3 separate regions of the Homo sapiens genome follow, and all the other regions are linked to region 1. The links are contacts of gene promoters, found by promoter capture Hi-C in blood cells and fetal thymus (Javierre and others, 2016). All regions are on one chromosome and are shown on one strand. Each heading gives the region's core, a stretch centred on a gene start or on the middle of the fragment in contact. The rest is flanking DNA. Distances are from core to core; before and after follow the strand shown. Region 1 holds the start of STMP1 (short transmembrane mitochondrial protein 1). Region 2 overlaps LOC124901750 (a long non-coding RNA gene). Region 3 overlaps BPGM (bisphosphoglycerate mutase).

The links. Contacts are between HindIII fragments. The CHiCAGO score rates a contact against its expected background, and 5 or more counts as called.
Region 2: a fragment that was not itself captured here is called in contact with the fragment with the promoter of STMP1 in region 1 in 1 of 17 cell types (erythroblasts); the score reaches 5.2 in erythroblasts.
Region 3: a fragment that was not itself captured here is called in contact with the fragment with the promoter of STMP1 in region 1 in 1 of 17 cell types (neutrophils); the score reaches 8.5 in neutrophils.

The regions. Positions count from the first base shown.
Region 1 is chr7:135,660,222-135,664,190 of GRCh38, forward strand. It overlaps STMP1 (short transmembrane mitochondrial protein 1), which reads left to right and starts at 2,293. Exons shown (of 3, transcript NM_001130929.2): 1 at 2,293-2,373. The coding sequence starts at 2,359. It also overlaps the pseudogene RPL15P11. RefSeq lists a silencer at 2,168-2,387 and enhancers at 3,027-3,551, 3,552-3,969. The HindIII fragment of the contact is 1,162 bases long and covers 1,518-2,679 here.
Region 2 is chr7:134,635,824-134,639,792 of GRCh38, forward strand. All of the region lies in intron 1 of LOC124901750 (a long non-coding RNA gene), which reads right to left. Among named protein-coding and RNA genes, the nearest start is that of BPGM, 9.0 kb to the right of the region's middle. RefSeq lists an enhancer at 223-312. The HindIII fragment of the contact is 3,013 bases long and covers 384-3,396 here.
Region 3 is chr7:134,655,169-134,659,137 of GRCh38, forward strand. All of the region lies in intron 1 of BPGM (bisphosphoglycerate mutase), which reads left to right. All of the region lies in intron 1 of LOC124901750 (a long non-coding RNA gene), which reads right to left. Among named protein-coding and RNA genes, the nearest start is that of BPGM, 10 kb to the left of the region's middle. The HindIII fragment of the contact is 3,796 bases long and covers 4-3,799 here.

The DNA.
Region 1 (3,969 bases), core at 1,043-3,542:
TATAGGATTCATGTTCACCATGGTGGTCAAAAATGCCCAATTCCTAAGGGTGCAACTTATGGCAAGCCTGTCCATCATGGTGTTAACCAGCTGAAGTTTGCTCGAAGCCTTCAGTCCATTGCAGAGGAGCGAGTTGGACACAACTGTGGGGCTCTAAGAGTCCTGAATTCTTACTGGGTTGGTGAAGATTCCACATACAGATTTTTTGAGGTTATCCTCATTGATCCATTCTATGAAGTTATCAGAAGAAATCCTGACACCCAGTCGATCACCAAACCAGTCCACAAGCAGAGGGAGATGTGTGGGCTGACATCTGCAGGCCAAAGGAGCTGTGGCCTTGGAAAGTGCCATAAGTTCCACCACACTATTGATGGTTCTTGCTGGGCAGCTTGGAGAAGGCGTGATACTCTCCAGCTCCACCGTTACCACTAATATAAGTAAAGTTTGGGCCAGGCGTGGTGGCTCACGCCTGTAATCCCAGCACTTTGGGAGGCCGAGGCGGGCGGATCACAAGGTCAGGAGATCGAGACCATCCTGGCTAACACGTTGAAACCTCGTCTCTACTAAAAATACAGAAAATTAGCCGGGCGTGGTGGCGGGCGCCTGTAGTCCCAGCTACTCGGGAGGCTGAGGCAGGAGAATGGCGTGAACCCGGGAGGCGGAGCTTGCAGTGAGCCGAGACTGCGCCACTGCACTCCAGCCTGGGTGACAGAGCGAGACTCCGTCTCAAAAAAAAAAAAAAGTTTGTAAAATTCGTACCTAATAATTTAGGACAGTCATGTCTGCTTACAGGTGTTATTTGTCTGTTAAAACTAGTCTGCAGATTGTTTCATGAATGCTTTGTCAAATTATGAAAATTAAAGTGCAATAATTTTTGAAGACAATAAGGGATGGTGTATCTTGTTTCTAATAAGATGAACTTTTTTTGTCTTTGCTTTATCTTATTAGGGAGTTATATATCTTATTAGGGAGTTAGTGTTTAAAACATACTGTGTGGTATAATAGGCTTAAAATAAATTCTTTAAAAGAGAAAGAGAGAAAAAAACACACACATACACAGACCGGAAGACTGACAGAACAGACTCTTTGTGGCGATGATACAAATTGTCAACAGGACCTATGGCCATCCCAGGCAAGAAACCCAGCTAGGCCAGTGAAACTGAGAGCCAACCTGATGAGGCCTGCCAAATGCAACTTCTCTCACTTGTTTTTAGTCACCTGCTTTTAGTGGATTAAAAAACCCACATAGCTAAAGTCACAGAGCTAAACAATATATATCTAAGCTCCCACTATCTTCCTTATGGATAACATCTCTGACATCTGGGTTGCTTGATAAAGGTTTCTTGTTTTTCAGGAAGTTGGGGTCAGTTCTTGTACAGTTTAAACCACCAACCTCTCAACTGGGCCTGCATGAAAGCCCGATGGGTGTCCTTCTGACATTAGAGGGCCAAAACCTCCACACTCAGATCATGCTAAGGATGTCATTTTGTGACCATGTATCCTATAAAGAGCCATGAAGCTTGACTACCTCGCGCAGATAACCCATTGCCAAACTTTTCCTTACCTTCAACCGCCTTTCCCCACACCTCAGACCACCCTGCTCCTCTATCCCATAAATATCCCTAAAACCCATCTTTGGGGAGGCAGATTTGAGATCTGTTCTCCCGTCTCCTCGGCTGGCTGCCTGGTGAATAAACCTTTTCTCTGCTACAAAACTCATCATCTCAGTGACTGGCGTGCGGCACACGGCAGCATGGGCCCCATACGGTACCCAGCCTCTACCTTGATTACACAACACCTGATTACACAACGCTGATTACACAGCACACCTGCGGAGCTTTGAGAGCTACAAGCCTCCTTTCCTCCCCGCAAAGTCCAGCTGGGCCCAAGTAGAGGATGCTGCAAAAGCCCCCACGATTCAGCTGCGAACCTAGGGATGGGACCCGCTGCTCATGCCGTCCTTCTAGGTTAGAGAGCCCTAAACTGGGCTGTGTATCAGAATAGTCCGCGTGCTGAGAATAATATAGATTCCTGGGCCTCGGCCCAGGTTTACAGAGGCGGGATGCTCAAGGATGCCCAGCCAGGCTCGGGACTTGCTCTTCGCAAGTCCTGTCGCGCGCTCGCTGCCCCGCCGGTTCAGGCGGTGAGGCCAACGCGCTCCGCCAGGGGGAACCTGGGCGCTGCGACACTGCAAGTCGTTTCCGGGCGCGGGCTGAGTGGGAGGAGCGGGGCGGGGCGTGGCGTGACCCGGAAGTCGACGAGGGGTTCCGCCCCCCCCGCGCATGGGGAGGTAGGCTCGGACCGGCCCGCGGAGCTGCTGCAGTCCTTCGCGCCCTCCTCGCCCTCCCCACCGACATCATGCTCCAGTTCCTGGTGAGTGGAGCTGCCGAAGAGCGGGGCCCGCTGCCTGGGGCGTGCCTCGGACCCCATTTCCCCCTTGAGGATTGCCGACCCCGCCGACCCGGCCTGGGCGTGGGTCCAGCGGTCCCTTCGTCCCCCGCGCCTGGTCGTCGCCTCGCAGGGCGGCCGTTTTCTTCCTGCCTCCCCAGAAAATCCCTTTGCCAATATTTTTCTGCAGCCATCCAAGTCCCTAAAACTTTGAGGTGTCAGAGAGTGTGCGTTTCCAGAGCTTCTTATTGTGTGCCGCGCCCCGCGCTCATTGTGCAATCTTTGTATTAAAGCTTGTGTGGTCCTTGATGACTTTTCGTAGTCCGCCCCCCTTTCTTTCTGCGCTCCTGTTCCATTACATGGTCGCCGGCCGGTCCCTGCTGTGGAGCCCTGCTAGTTGGCTTTTCTGAGGAGGTAGGAAGGCCAGGAATAAACCGTAAATTAGCCACCTCACGAAGTCCGAGAGGCTAAGTCCTCATCAGACCTTTCAGAGTTGGAGGAATGAGTCAGACACTGGTATACAAGTAATTTTTCCCAAAATGTGTAAGCATGAGTAAGCAGACTATTTCTCTTGGCTCCTTATTTGAGTTAAAAACGAGTTTTCTGGCAAAACTCGGTATATTTCAAAAATTGCTTGGTGAAGGTTCCAGGAGTTGCTCATCAAATTTTCAAGTGAAAGTTTTTCTGCCAAGCTATTGTGCATTCAAAACTTGATGCTTTCAACCTCTATTTTTTTTTATTTTTTATTTTTTTTGAGACGGAGTCTCGCTGTGTCGTCAGGCTGGAGTGCAGTGGCGCAATCTGGGCTCACTGGAACCTCCGCCTCCCGGGTTCAACCGATTCTCCCTCCTCGGCCTCCGGAGTAGCTGGGATTACAGGCGCGCACCAGGATGCTCAGCTAATTTTTGTATTTTTAGTAGAGACGGGTTTCACCAAGTTGGCCAGGCTGGTCTCGAACTCCTGACCTCAAGTGATCAACCCACCTCAGCCTACGAAAGTGCTGGGATTACAGGCGTGAGCCACTGCTCCCGGCTCAAATGCTGTATCTTTTTTTGTTGTTTGTTTTAACGGAGTCCCGCTCTGTCGCCAGGCTGGAGTGCAGTAGTGCGATCTCGGCTCACTGCAGCCTCCGCTTCCTGGGTTTAAGCGATTCTCCTGCCTCAGCCTCCCGAGTAGCTGGTGCGCGCCAGCAGGCCCAGTTAATTTTTGTATTTTTAGTAGAGACGGGGTTTCACCCCGTTGGCCGGGATGGTCTCGATCTCCTGACCTCGGGATCTGCCTGCCTCAGCCTCCCAAAGTGCTGGGATTACAGGCGTGAGCCTCCGCGCCCGGCCCCAAATGCTGTATCTTTATCAAAGAGATTAAAACACAAAATGCACCCCTTTTGTCCTTTTGAAAGATGGTAATGGATTGTTAAATCCAATTAGTCAAAAGAGTGTCCTTAATCTGCCCAGCTAAGACAGGGCTGCTCCTTTGCCTCTAGGAGTTTCTGTAGTGTCCTAACTAGATGTTAGTTTAGGAGTTCAGAATAATGACAGTCATTTTCTTGTAGTAAACACTAGATTAAAAGCGGTATCACTT
Region 2 (3,969 bases), core at 640-3,139, 1.0 Mb before region 1:
TTGCATTTTAATGCTATAAAGACACGTTCCTTCCTTAAACCTCATGAATCAACCTCTGTTAGCTTCCAACTTTTTTCTCTTTAGTTTGAAGCTTTTTTTCTGCAGCTTCCTCACCTTTCTCAGCCTTTATAAAATTGGAGAGAGTTACAGCCTTGCTCTGGATTAGGCTTGGACTTAAGGGAATGTTGTGGCTAGCTTGATCTCCTATCTAGACCACTAAAACCTCCATATCAGCAATAACACTGTTTCACTTTCTTATCATTTGTGTGTTCCCTAGAGTTTAATTTCCTTCAAGAACTTTTGCTTTGCATTCACAGCTTGGCTGTTTGGTGCAAGAGCCTTAGCTTTCAGCCTCTCTGACTTTCAACATGCCTTCCTCACTAAGCTTAATCATTTCTAGCTTTCGATTTCAAGTGAGAGACATGTGATTTCCCTTAACTGGAACACTTACAGGTCACTGTAGGACTATTAATTGGCCTAATTCCAATGTTGTTGTGTCTCAGAGAATAAGTAGGCCCGAGGAAATGGGGAGAGATGGGGGAATGGCTGGTCAGTCAAGCAGTCAGAACACACACATTTATCAATTAACTTTGATGTAGTATATGGGTGTAGTTCATTGCACACCAAAGCAATACAATAGTAACATTAAAGACAACTCATCACAGATCGCCATAACATATATAATAATGAAAAAGTTTGAAATGTCCTGAGAATTATCAAAATGTGGAAGAGATACAAAGTGAGCAGATGCTGTTGGAAAAAAATGGCGCCAATGGACTTGCTTGACAAAGGGCTGCTACAAACCTTCAATTTGTGAAAAATGCAGTATCTGCAGCATGAAGTAAAGTGAAGAGCAATAAAATGGGGTATCTGTACAGATATTAAACTGAATTAAATATTTCCATTTGGTTCAATGACAGTAACTTATAAGAATGGTTGATTAGAGATTGCTGGGAGATAATTGCTGGGCACCAAGCCACTTTTTAGTAATAGTTTCAAAATTTACAGTGATTGGAATAGTGAGTTTATATTTGGTGGTGCATGAAAAAACAAGGAGATACATCATAAAAACCTTGGAAACAATAGAATCATTATCTTTTATAGCTTATAAAATGGTGGGCTGAGCTTCTGAGTCTACAAAATTGAGTGGGAAACCTTACACATAGTGAGTTTACCAAAGCTAGTGTCACCTCAATGGTTTTCCAGGCCTCATTGCCCACATTTTGTTTTAAACTTCTTTGGGTCCTAGGAAGGTGCCCCCTTGGACAACAATTAAGAAAAGCCCAGACCACATTTCTATCATTCAGGCCTTCTTTCACTTCCTTTTCAAGGCTACATTCATTTCTCTTACCTGTGTCTGTAGCGATAGATGGTATTTTCTTTTCTTTTTTTTTTTTAGATGGAGTCTCGCTCTGTGGCCCAGGCAGAAGTGCAGTGGCATGATCTCAGCTCACTGCAACCTCCACCTCCCAGGTTCAAGCTATTCTCCTGCCTCAGCCTCCTGAATAATTCGGATTATAGGTGAATGCCACCATGCCCGGCTAATTTTTTTTTCTTTTCTTTTTTTTTTTTTTTTTTTTTTTTTGTATTTTTGATAGAGGCAGGGTTTCACCATGTTGGCCAGGCTGGTCTTAAACTCCTGACCTTGCGATCAATCCACCTCAGCCTCCCAAAGTGCTGGGATTACAGGAATGAGCCACCACACCCAGCTGATAGATGGTATTTTCTAAGCAACAAATGAGGGTATTTGAGCCGAAAAAAACGTGCCTCTCTTCCAAGAAAGAATGGATAGACAATTTCAAAAATTAGCCAGTATTGGGAAATCAGCAGAGTAGTTACTGTGCTCCAATCCCACCTCTTTCTGTAAATGACACATGGAGGGTATAACACAAGGATTTAGTCTGGGGGTGGGGCCAGGCAAGGAAGTCTATACTGCTAGTTGGGAGGAATCTTCACATTGACTAATTCTCCATGGTCACAGAGTTCCTTTCATACCGCTCCCTCTAATTTCCATTATCAGAGTCTTTAAACCTATGTCAATGTATTTCTTTTAAAATGTGATCCAAGAAAGGGCCACTTTAGAAGAATGAGCTCAAAGACTGTGCTTTCCCTGCTCCTCTGACCCCACCAGGTTTCCAGCACTTCATCTCCAGTATCTTCAGTCTCTCCACTGTTTCTTCCAGGCCAGTTTCCAGTGGAAAGACTGCATCTAATGTCCTTGAGTTCTTCTTCTGTTGCTGGTTGAGATATGCCGTTGCCCCAGGCAGCAATGGCAGCAGTTCAGGATTCCCAACCTCTTTCAAAACAGGAAGCCCCACCCCTTAAGCAACCACCTTCTAGTGTAGTACATGCTAGACCGTGCTACCTGGGAGGAGTGGAAATAGCATCCTCTACAGCGGCCTTTGCTCTCAGAGCACATCAGGGCTTTGGCTCTGTGTTTCTATTCTGTCTTTGGTCCACGGAAATGTTTATACTGTTTTCGAACCCTAGAATATATTTTGGGCATTTTCTTTTTATGTTATTTAATACTGCTGGATGTTTACAGTGGAAACCTACTATGCAATTCTGACTGGAAATTCTGTGCATATTTAAACATTGCTCAGAATTCACCTCTTCCATCAAATATCTAAACTTATTACAACCCTGCACTTACGCTCTCCCTTTCCACCCCAAAATACTCTGTGAGCCCTTACTCATTCTACTTGCACTTGTATTTGTTGGACTGTAACAAACACTTGAGTTAGTCTTTCCCCTACTGGACCTTGAGGACAAGGAGGATGTTTAATTTATTTATATATCTCTTGTACTTGGCACAGTGACTTGTTTATAGTAGGCACGAAAAATACTAATTCATTTCCTTCAAAATTCCTAACACAAGTTCTTGAACATTAGGAGGAATTCAATGAATAATTGGTTACTTATTGATTTGCTAGTTGAGACCAGAACCTGTACACTTCTGAAGACTTTACTTATTCTTCTTCTTTATCCTTTTTTTTTCTCCTTTTTCTCCCATTTTTAGAGAGGGCAGAGATGCAGCAAAGCATAAGGAAATAGATGAGTTTAGGAGAAGAGAATATGCTATAGTTACCTTTTTTCAGAAGAAAAGAAATGAAAGCATTTTCCATAATATTTTGTTAGAGGTTGGTCTATTCTTGTTTTACTGAATATAGCTGGGTTTGGAGCTGAGAACACAGGTCCTTTCCTGCTGTGCATAAAAACAATTATCTACAGAAGGGAAACTCTAGCAATATATCAATGCCAGGCCTTTATACACTTGTTGGTATTCTGATGGTGAAGACATGTATGTCATTTGGCACTGCAGTTCCTTCTTTGTTTCGGCTGTGATAGTGATCCAGGATCCTAGCAATCTAAACATCATCTTACTTCGAATTACCAAGCTTTGAAGCCTTTGCCATTACTCACTTTATAAGTCGTAACTTAGTAAAGAGAACATCATATGAGAGTGATTTTTCTTCCCTATCTGATTTTTACATCTTCTGGTTGCAAACAGCAATTTACCTATTCCTCTTATCTGATACCTCACAGAGTGACAACATCAGAAACTAGTTAGGACACTCACCTGGCAGAGACTGGAATTTAGTGGTTGGTACTGACTGATGATATAAACAATTAATTATTTACTCTCTTCATTCCTTATTTCAAAAGTTACTAATAAATGAAGCCAGTCAAGCTATTTCTTACATTTTATTATTTTTAAATTTTATATTTTTATTTTAATTTTATATTTTTAAATTTTATTATAAAAATAAATTTTATTAAATTTATTTTATAAGGATTTTATTTTATAAGGATTCTGTGAGTACTTAAATGAGAAACATAAAGAACTTTGTCTCACTCATGTTGGAATCATAGCTCTTTAGGAAAAAAGTAGCATCTCTCTAGACATAAAATAACAACTATAAGTTGCTATAGAAACAACAGCTCTCAAAGCCAGTAGAGAACATTTTT
Region 3 (3,969 bases), core at 652-3,151, 1.0 Mb before region 1:
TAAAGCTTGAGGTTGAAAAGGAATAGTTTTTAATTTGGGATGGGGAGTATTTATTCTTAGTAAGGTTCCTCTTTATAAGTTGGGGTGACTATTGCCTGGCTTACTTTGTGCCTTGAGGTTTTTCTCAAGAGTACTAATAAGGTGAGCCCTCCTTCATGTTCACCTTGTTCGTTTGCGTTTGATGAAATGGCTGCCTGGGTTTGGAAGGACAAGTTGGAACTGGAGATACCCCTGTGAAGTGAAGCCAAGTGAGCCAAGATCCTCAAACCATGACTCTAATATCTCCAGTGGGGGGTTGAAGGCAGAAGACCAGGGTTGCAGTTCCAGTTTGCCATTTACTGGCCATATGTTTTTGAACAAGTCAATCAGAATCTCCATTTTTTTCTGTGGAGATTATGGCCATCCATGAACATACTAAACTTATAGTACAAAAGTACAAAGTACAGAACTATAATGGATAATTATTCTTGGCTCCTGTTTTGACATAAATACCCTGAGATTCTTAAGTTAAAGTTTCCTAACATCTTAGCCCTGCCAACTGATTTTACTGTGGCAGTTACCACTAAAACTCTCAAGCCTTAGTCTCATGTGTACAATCCAGTCATTTCTGTCTGACTTTGGTTCAGTCAGTACACCTACTGAGTGCCTCATATGTGCCAAGCGATGTGCTAGGTTCTAGAGATACAGCAGTAAGACCTGCCTTGATGCAGCTTACAGTCTTACAGGGCACATAGCCATTGAACAGGTAATATATCTCAAGGGATCCATCGCAAGTGCACCAAATGTGGTTAAGCGGGATGCTACAGGAGTAGGTCAGCAGGCCTGACCTACTTCCCAATGGGTGAAGAGGAAGTCTAAAGCCAGGGGTTCTCAAAACATGGTCCTTGGACCAGCCATGTCACCATCACCTGAGGACTTGCTAGAAATGCATATTCACAGTCCCACCCCAGACCTACTAAATCAAGCTCTGGAAGTGGGCCCAAGCAATCTGTTTAATTTGATTTTGATATACATTAAAGTTTGAGAACCACTGGCCTACAGGAACTAACATTTAAGCTGAGCTCTAAAGCTGCATGATCTAGTGCGGTAGCCACTGGTCACATGTGGCTATGGAGCACTTGAAATGTGGCTGGTTCACATTGAGATATGCTTTCATTATAAAGTACACACCAGATTCCAAAGACATACTGTGAAAAAAAAGAATGTAAATTGCCTTATTAATAATTTTTGTATGGATCATGTGTTAGAATTGTATTAGTTCTCATGCTGCTAATAAAGACATATCAGAGACTGGGTAATTTTATAAAGGAAAGAGGTTTAAATGATTCACAGTTCAGCATGGCTGGAGAGGCCTCAGGAAACTTACAATCATGGTGGAAGGGAAGCAAACATGTCCTTCTTCACATGGTGGCAGCAAGGAGAAGTATAAGTGAAGTGGGGGCAAAGCTCCTTATAAAACCATCAGACCTCGTGAGAACTCACTTTCTATCATAAGAACAGCATGAGGGTAACTGTCCCCATGAATCAATTACCTCCCACTGGGTCCCTCCCATGACACATGGGGATTATGGGAACTACAATTCAAGATGAAATTTGGTCTTGGCCCCTCCCAAATCTCATGTCCTCTCATTTCAAAACATAATCATGCCCTTTCCAACAGTCGCCCAAAGTCTTAGCTCATTTCAGCATCAACCCAAAAGTCCAAATCCAAAGTCTCATCTGAGACGAGGCAAGCCCTCTCTGCCTATGAGCCTAGAAAATTGAAAGCAAGTTAGTTACTTCCTAGATACAGTGGGGCTACAGGCATTGGGTAAATATACCTGTTCCAAATGGGAGAAATTGGCCAAAACAAAGGGGCTACAGCAGGCCCCATGCAAGTCCAAAATCCAATAGAGCAGTTGTTACACCTTAAAGTTCCAAAATGATCTCCTTTGACTCCATGTCTGAATGATAGCTTTTGGACCTATAGGATTCATGTGGCTTGTAGAAAATTTAAAACTTCATTGTGCCTCGCATTATATCTTGATTGGACACAACTGATCTAAAGGATGACTAGAGCTTAACCTAAAGCAGGGTGAGACTGAAGTGGCAATGGAGAGAAGAGATGAAGGGTGAGTGTTCTGCATAGGGTACAGTGTGTGCAAAACTACTGAGGCAAGAAAGAACCTGACATGCTCAAGGAAATAAAACGAAAGCCTTGCAGGTCACATGAAGGATTCTGAACATTTTCTAAGACCAGTAGGAAGAATTGAGGTTTTAAAATAAGATACTCAATTTTCAAGGAGTTTAATTGTTAGTTTGCAGTTAATAAATGAGGGCAAGAGAACTTCAACTGAATATAGCAAGACTTTCAACATTGAAGCTCCCCAACTCCCTAGGATGGTGGGGGAGGGGCGATTTGGTCAGTGGAGGAAGCAGGACGCTGCCCATCACCTGAACCTAACCCTAGGGTATGAGGCATGAGCACCCCCCACTAGAGAGAGAAGCAGTGTCACCTGGGAAGAGGTCGTTTTCAGTTCAGATCTTTTTCAGTGCAATTGACACTCAAAGCTGAGTGGGAGTTTGAGGACAGAGCTAGGAATTCTGCAGGGCACCAGCAAATGGTTTGGTGAGGGAGGGCTGTAAAGGTGGGTCAGGGAGAAGGAAGCCCAGAGCATTATGGGGATTAGAGGGTCTGTCCTTTGAAAGGCTGTGTTGGGCAATAACAGGAAAGCTGGTTAAGTGGTCCAGACGCTTGGGTTCTGACCGTCTCCTGGGGTATAGTGGCTGTACCATTTATCTGTGGCCTAGGGGAGGTTTCCCTTTAAGTCAGAGGTCATAAGCTAGCAGCCACGATCTAGCCTGCAGAAGAAATGTTTTGTTTCACTCACATTTTACAAATATACATTAGTTGCTAATATTTAAATCAGATATCAGATAAAAATACACGTTTTCATTTTTTTTTTAATTGGAAGATCTAGAAACCTCAGTTGCTCAGTATCACAGGGCAATGGGCTGGAGCTAAGTAGTAGGTACTCCTTTGATTTTTTACATGAATTTTTAGGAGGTTTTGAAATGATTGTTTTAGCTTTTTTAAAAAAGACATTTATTTACTCAAAGTTTCTCTGTGGTCTGACTCTAAGTCTTGCATTCATCCTAGTCTTCGATGTCAGCAATCCCATCTTCTTTTTGTTTTCCAGAAAAGTTCTAAGAACAGTGCTGTTGGCTCAGTGAGATGAGGTTATCGGAAAACTTTCTGTTTACACAAGAGTTGCCTCCTTCAAAGAAGCATGCATGGTCCTTGCAGGTCACTGTGCCCATCACTCTGCATAGTCCAGCTGCACTCTGCTTCACACAGCTGCCTGCCCATTGCAGGCATTTGAGTTTGCAATCCATGCCTTAAACTTTAAATCACACTGGCTACAGCGTTGTGTGTTTCTTGGTAAACACTGGGTAAATCAGCTCCTGTGGATGTTGACTGAAGTTTCTATGTTTGCAAGCTAATCCTCAGCAGTTTCTTTGTAAGTATCCAGCAGTTAAGTGGGAAAAGTCCGTTGATAGTACTAGGGAGGAGAGAGGAAAGTGACCTTTTGTTTTCTTGAGATAGACATACTAGTTTAGTACTTTATCATGTATTCACCTGCGTAAATGTATTCCTGTGCTTCAGAGTGAGGGAAGGATGCATATTTGCATAGTTTTTGTGACTGCAGTACTGTTCCTCTGTTCTGGTGTGTGTGTGTGTGTATTTTTTTTTTAGTAAAAAGAAAACAGAACTTTGTTTTAATGCAGTAAGCAAATATAGGAGAATAAGATACCACAAAGCTTGGTGGTGGGTGCCTGAGTGTCCATGTTGCTATTACTACATTGTTTTGTCCCCTTGATATAGTTTATAATCAAAAGATGGTGGAAAGGTGCTTCTGTCTACAAAATTTGTCTAACCATGCCCTTCTTTAACTGAAGAGAGAATGGCTTCATTAGCTTATGGAGGTT